Regions from separate parts of the Homo sapiens genome. Here region 2 is linked to region 1. The links are contacts of gene promoters, found by promoter capture Hi-C in human tissues and cell types (Jung and others, 2019). All regions are on one chromosome and are shown on one strand. Each heading gives the region's core, a stretch centred on a gene start or on the middle of the fragment in contact. The rest is flanking DNA. Distances are from core to core; before and after follow the strand shown. Region 1 holds the start of SAR1A (secretion associated Ras related GTPase 1A). Region 2 overlaps UNC5B (unc-5 netrin receptor B).

What was found. The method cuts DNA at HindIII sites, captures the fragments that hold promoters and counts their contacts. A contact is called where the count stands out against the background at its distance.
Region 2: a fragment that was not itself captured here is called in contact with the fragment with the promoter of SAR1A in region 1 in 1 of the 25 tissues and cell types used here (hippocampus).

Annotation. Positions count from the first base shown.
Region 1 is chr10:70,168,623-70,172,147 of GRCh38, forward strand. SAR1A (secretion associated Ras related GTPase 1A) reads right to left here and starts at 1,892. Exons shown (of 7, transcript NM_020150.5): 1 at 1,791-1,892. RefSeq lists enhancers at 858-1,516, 1,517-2,173, 2,307-2,386 and a silencer at 1,817-2,176. The HindIII fragment of the contact is 10,715 bases long and covers 1-3,525 here.
Region 2 is chr10:71,298,206-71,301,730 of GRCh38, forward strand. UNC5B (unc-5 netrin receptor B) reads left to right here. Exons shown (of 17, transcript NM_170744.5): 17 at 907-3,525. The coding sequence ends at 1,072. Among named protein-coding and RNA genes, the nearest start is that of SLC29A3, 19 kb to the right of the region's middle. The HindIII fragment of the contact is 7,838 bases long and covers 1-3,525 here.

The sequences.
Region 1 (3,525 bases), core at 642-3,141:
AGTGATGTAAACATTTTTTACAAGTCTGTAAAGTATTGACTGAAAACCAGTGTAGTACAAATGTATATAGAAGTGTTGGGTTGTAAAGGAGTGATGAGAGTGGAGGCTGACTGAAGAAACTCTTCAGGTGAGCTAAAAATAATAAAAACCCTTACTAGATCCAAAGAGTCGGGTTGCACTGCTACCCAAAGTTAAGAAAATGCCCCCGCCCCCCTTTTCTTAAGACAGACCAAGACTCTGTCTCCAAGGCTGAAGTGCAGTGTTGCCATCATGGCTCACTGCAGCCTCAACCTCCCAGGCTCAAGAGATCCTCCCACCTCAGCCTCCTCAGCAGCTGAAAATGGCCTTGGTGGCTCCTCTCTCCTTAAGATCTTAGGATTTGTACCAACTCATCAGTAGTTTTACAATCTGCACAGTACTTGTACATCTCATTTCATCCCCACACCAACCCTACCAGGCAAGGATCACTGGCCTCATTTAACAAGATAAAGATGAGGATACTCCTAGTTTTGCTGAGTCCTTTAAGACGGCTCAGTTGAAAAAGTAATAGTGCCAGGGCTTAAACCCTCATCTCTAACACCAAAGCCTAAGCTCTTCCTGTTAACAGTACATAAAATTCAAACCCAAACCACAAAATTGCTGGGGAAAAAAAAAAAAACTAAAACTTCTTTAACCCACCAACTACACAGAGGATGATCTTCCGAAGTTCTCTTCCTTACAACTCATCACATCTTTTGAATGGTATTTTAATAACTAGCATTCTATTTATTTTCTATTCTTGGTCCATTGTACCACCTTACGAGAAGTTAAGAGTAATCTAAAATTTAAGGTAGGTCTCTAAACTATCAACAAAACACTATTAATGTACCTAAAATGAAAACTTGCGAATTCCAGGGCTAAATGATTCAAACAAATGTTAATAGAAAAGGAGGGCACCAATCTGACCATTAGCCAATTTAAAAATTTACGCATTACTTGTTATACATAATCAGGGCAACTTTAAGACGCCATTCCAGGCAGATTTGGGGTAGTAGGCGGCTGGCTTTTAGCTAACTCTGCTTAGCTGCGGGGTAAATGTCAAAGGTCAGCCCCATGGCGAATCTCCCTAAGCCCCCTGTCGCAACCGAAGCCGATGGAATCAACAAGACAAAGATGCTCCTGACCCACTGGCTAGAATCGTGAAGAAAACGCTAATCCATGTCAAATGCACATAAGGAAATTTTTCCATGCAGAGACCAGACAGGGGAAAAGGGGAAGGGAGAAGGAGAAAATACAGGGTTCGACCCGGGCCATCGGAAGACAACCAAGCGCTGACTTGGGGGTAAGCCCTGGACTAGGGGCCTGTAGACCAGGTTCGAGCGCTCACACTCGCTAACTGCGGAGCCTTGGCCAGCCTCAGTCTCCGAGTCTACAAAACAAGGATAATCATAAAGGGCTCCCACCCGCCTCACCGAGGGCTGTGAGGCTCTTCCGAGACAGAGGACATGGAGCCATTTCGTAAACCGGAGCGCACGGTACAGACAAGAAACTGTTATCCGGCCCAGCAGCTGCGAGACCCCCGAGCGGAATGCAAGTGGACCCCAGGCAAAGAGGACAGCAGGGGACGGAGCAGATCTGGCCAAGTTGTCCCGTCCCCGCCCAGAATCAGCCCCGCGGCCCCACAGAACCGCCTGCGTGTCACTTCCCCCCCACCCAACCCCGCCAGGGCCAGCCTCCGCTCCGACCTCCCCGCCTTCCGTCCCAGCCCCTCGAGCCCCAACTCCCCTCCCCGACGCGACCCTCAGACTCACGGCCTGAGGGGCTCCTCCGGCAAAACAGCGGCTGGCTCGGACCCTCCCTCAGAGCACACTAACCAGCAGCACCCGGGACCGCCAGCTACTCGCCGGATGTACGTCACACCCCTCCCCGGGACTTCCGGGCGCGTAATGGGCCCCGCCCCCTCACAGCGTTACGCCTCTCTGCCCCGGTGCCGTCCCACCAGCGACTCGGGCCGCGGAGGGGCGGGCATAAGGCGTGACAAAGCGCGCTCGGGGTCTGGCCCCGCCTCGGCCCCGCCTGCTCCCGTCTGGCTAGCTGACCGCGCGAGACGTGGCAGCGCCGGAACCCTGGGTCCGGGGCTGGGTCCTGGAGTCCCTGAGCGGCCTGGTACACTCGGGATCGCGGCTTCCCATTCCAGACGCACCAGGAAAGTCAGAAGTGGGTACCGACGGTGACATAGGTCCTGGGAAAGATGAGTTGACCTTGGGGCCCTCCACTTGAGGTGGATCCCTCCAAGCTTTTGCTTTTTTTCTTCCTTGCTTTTTTTTTTTTTTTTTTTTTTTTTGAGGCGGAGTCTCACTTTGTCGCCCAGGCTGGAGTGCAGTGGCGCGATCTCGGCTCACTGCAACCTCCACCTCCCGGATTCAAGCGATTCTCATACCTCGGCCTCCCGAGTAGCTGGAACTACAGGCGCATGTCACCACACCTGGCTAATTTTTTTGTATTTTTACAGAGACAGGTTTCACCGTGTTGGCCAGGCTGGTCTCGAACTTCTGACCTCAAGTGATCCGCTGGCCTCGGCCTTCCAAAATGCTGGGATGAGAGGCGTGAGCCACCGCGCCCAGCTGCTTTTGCTTTGAGTCGCACTTCCTTGCCCTGGGGTGGCCTATGTTTTAGAAAAACAGAAAAACAGCTAATATTTATTGTGCACTTATGTTCCAGGCAGAGCACTGGGTACTTTGCACGCTTTGTCTAATTTCACCGTCATTGGAGTCCTGTGACTCCAGATGCTAGTATTATCCTTATTGACAAATGAGAGAGCAATGTTCAGAATAACCTACCATGCCCAAGTTCACACAGCTAAGTGGCAAAGCAACGTGTTCACCCCAGTATATTTCGCATGCATTTTCTCATTTAATTCTCAGGACAGTCCCACGAGATTGGTACTATTATTACTCTCATTTTACAAATAAAACAGTCTAATGGAAAGATGAATGACGTCTGTGGGTTCATGAAGATCTCAATTCTCCTTTAGTAAAATTTAAATTTAACATAATCCCAATAAAAGTACTAATAGGATTAATAGGTCGTGTGTGGTTTCGTTCTTTTTTTTTAATTACCCTATTTGTTCCTAAAATTCGTATAGAAAACCAAACAAAACTAGTCCAGAAACAGGCTTTCAAAATGAAGAACAAGGAGGTGGGAACTAACCCTGTTGGATATTAAAACATATTATAGAGCCTAAGTTATTAAAACTGGTGTGCGTGCACATGCACAAACACACACACACAAAAAACACAATGGAACAGAGCAAAGTACAGAAATGACTAAAGTACATGCAGAAATAAAACTAAAGTAGCACCTGGGACTCCAGCAATACTCAGGGAGCTGAGTGGGCAAGCTCACCACCCTCTACCCTCCGCTCATCCTGGGGTCTTAGATGTTGAATTTGAACCCTGTCCTGTCACAGAAAGGTGTCAGGCCACTTCTGAGGCTTCTCACCAGCTTTAGCTAAACCAGGGACAATGTGTCCATGGGGCTTGGAAC
Region 2 (3,525 bases), core at 392-2,891, 1.1 Mb after region 1:
TGCCACCATTTGTGGCAAATCAGCAACTCAGGATTGGATATGCAAAGTTCAAGAATACTGCTCCCTTGAGGAGCATCATGCTCAGAGCACTGGTCCTTGAGCCAGGCAGACTCTCAGACCCTGCTCTTTTCCCATTGTGTGGGGATAATGCTCCACCTGCCCATCTCACCGAACAGCAGGAGACTCAAAGCCAGGGCATCAGCTTGGTGCCATCATTGTCAGCACCTGGTATCTAGGACAGAGAATGTGCTGCGAGATGCTTGCTGACTGACCAAGATACACTTTGGTGTCAAAACTCCTTTGGAGAACCTCAAATGCTGGATAAGTGCTGGATAAATATAAGGCCAATGATAATAAATATTATACTTATTGAAAGATGTGTAATAAACCTGCATTGAGTCTCAAAAAATAAATAAATAAAATATGCTTTAGATAAGACATTTTACTAGAAATGAATAGGACTTACAAAGATGGCTAAGGCTTTATTCCTCCTATCAGGGGAGTTCATGGGAGCAGGAGGGAACACGGGTGGGAGGAATGACCACATGCTAGACGTGGTCATTCTCTCTTGGGGCCAGTGTCTTTCAATGATAATAATGATGATGATGAACAAGATGGTTACATGCTAGAGACAACGCTAGACCCTTACTTTATATGATCTTGGATCTTGCTGAGCGGTAACTGGCATTGTTCCCATTTTAGAGACAAGGAGACTGAGATTCTGAGCCATAGGTTCTGAATTGCCGAGAGCCACACAGACTGCAGCACAGTAGCTGCAATTCAGACCCAGGACAGTGGGACACCAAAGCTCACAGCCTTCCCACTTCCCCTTGTGCCCCTTCACCTCCAGGCTCCGGGGAGGGGCTAAGTGCTTGGGAACCTCAGTGCCCTCCTTCCCTCTGCCAGGTACCTGAATTACTTTGCCACCAAAGCGAGCCCCACGGGTGTGATCCTGGACCTCTGGGAAGCTCTGCAGCAGGACGATGGGGACCTCAACAGCCTGGCGAGTGCCTTGGAGGAGATGGGCAAGAGTGAGATGCTGGTGGCTGTGGCCACCGACGGGGACTGCTGAGCCTCCTGGGACAGCGGGCTGGCAGGGACTGGCAGGAGGCAGGTGCAGGGAGGCCTGGGGCAGCCTCCTGATGGGGATGTTTGGCCTCTGCTTCCTCCCAGTTCACAGCCAGAGTTGCCTCTCCTCCTCCTCTTCCCCAACCCCCAGACCATGACCAGCCTTAGAAAATCCATGTACTCTGTTGTTAGAGGGCCCAGAGTTCCTTCTCCACCCCCGCTCTCTCTCTCTTGGCCTGAGATCTCTGTGCAGGAACCAAGATGGGGCTGAAGCCTCTGGAGGCAGTTGGTTGGGGGCGGGCAGGCAGGAGGCCCTCCCTCCACCCCCCCACCCTCAGCCCGGCAACTTCTGGGTTCCATGGGTTTTAGTTCCGTTCTCGTTTTCTTCCTCCGTTATTGATTTCTCCTTTCTCCCTAAGCCCCCTTCTGCTTCCACGCCCTTTTCCTCTTTGAAGAGTCAAGTACAATTCAGACAAACTGCTTTCTCCTGTCCAAAAGCAAAAAGGCAAAGGAAAGAAAGAAAGCTTCAGACCGCTAGTAAGGCTCAAAGAAGAAGAAAAACACCAAAACCACAAGGGAAAAGAAAAACCCAGTTTCTTAGGAAACGCAAACGATTTATTATCCAGATTATTTGGATAAGTCCTTTTTAAGAAAAAAAAAGAAAATGAAAAACAACACAAAAAAAATAGAAAACTCTTTTCTTGAGTGTGGATGAGAATGGGCACGCTCACACTTCTGGCCAGGAGTGAATGTGCCTGTGTGTGTGTGTGTGTGTGTGTGTGTGTGTGTACATGTACGCGTGTGCATTGAGGAGAGAGAGACTGAACAGAGAGTACTTTGCTGCTAACGAATCCATCTTGGACTAAATTCTGACAAGGCCTCAGTTTCCCCAGTTGTGCAGGGAGTAGGTCAGACAGGGTTTTCACTGTCTAGATTTAGCTGGTTAGATTTTCCTCTAAAATCTTAAGCAGATGCTGAATCCATAAAGCCAAGGAGTGCTGAGGGCTGGAGTGGGTGGGCCCTCCCTCCCACAGCCCCAGGGAGATACATCTGGACTCCTGGGAATCTGGATTAAGAAAGTTGGGATGAAAGAGGAGGACTGCTCAGGCCAGTTGTGAGCCAGGGAGAATGTTCCAGTCTGGTTTTGGTCTGGTGGCTCCTAGAAAGGGATGTGGCCCAGAAGTGGGACTCAAACAGAGAGATGAAGTAGGGGAGGGGAGTCCTCCACGGGCATCTCTCTCCTGGCGGCTGGATAGCTTTACCCTAGGGTGGGGCCAGCCCTGACACCCTCATCCCCTCCTCAGCCCAGCAGCCTCTAGAGCAGCGTGGTGCTCTCTTGATGGCCAGGAATCCAGAATCTGCCCTTCCCCAACCTTGGTTTCTCCTTCTGTAAAGCAGAGTGATGGCTGAGAAGTCCTCTCTAGCTGCAGAAGCCTGAGCTTCCCGGTGTCAGTCAGCTCTGCAACGTGGGAGCCTTGGAGGCGGGTGGCCTGGCTGTGCTTCATATGCCCAGGAGTGGAGAAGGAGGCTGAGAAGCTGGTTTCCCAGCTCTGATCTCCACAGGCACCTCCTATAACCCTCCTCTCACCCACCCCGCTACGGTCTGAGAGATCTGAAATAACCTTTCCCAGTGGGCAGGGTTGCCAGGGTTGAGGGGACAGCACATACCACCCCCACCCAACCTGTTCGAGGGGCCCTGCATGGCACGGGATGAGTCCCTGCCCTGTGCAGCTGCCTGGCAGTGGCTGGGACAAGGATCTTGCAGCCAGCACAGAGGCCTCTTCAAAGGCCTCTCCCTCTTGGCACTCCAGGCAAGGCAGGTGCCCGCTTCCCCAACACCTCCAGGCAGTGACCCTAGGGCATGCCCCAGCAGGTCTCCGAGCAGCCACTGGGACCCGTCTCAGCACATCCTGGCCTTTGAAAGTCTGATATCCTGAGAGGAGGGCAGGTTTTAGGGCCGCAGTTCCAGCCAGCGTCCCCAGCCTGGCTTCCCTGCCATGGACTCAGTAGCTCGTGGGGCTTCTTACCACCCACCAGCCCCGCTGGGGTGCGGCCTGGCTGTGGGCAAAGGAGGACTTGCCTGGAGATTTGAGAGAAGATTCCTTCTACCAGGGCTGCTGAGGGGCCAGGCCTGCATCAGGGGCTAGGCTCTGGCTGGGCCCGGAGGCTGAGACTAAGGCTTTCGACCCTGGTGCCTCCATGTGGATGCTGCCTCAGACAAAGGCAGTGAGCCTTCCCTGCCAAAGTGCCCATCCCATGGGCTCGGCCTCACTGGTCACTGTTAGCCCATGAACACGTGTGGGCCTCGGTCACGTGGCTTTGAGGGCAGTCTGACCAGGCTAGACCACACGTGCCGTGACAGGGGGTGCCATTCCCCTCGCAGGCTCTAATGTGCCCACATGTAGCCTGGCAGTCCAAAGACCAAGAATCAACTTGCAAATCTGCCATTAAACTGCT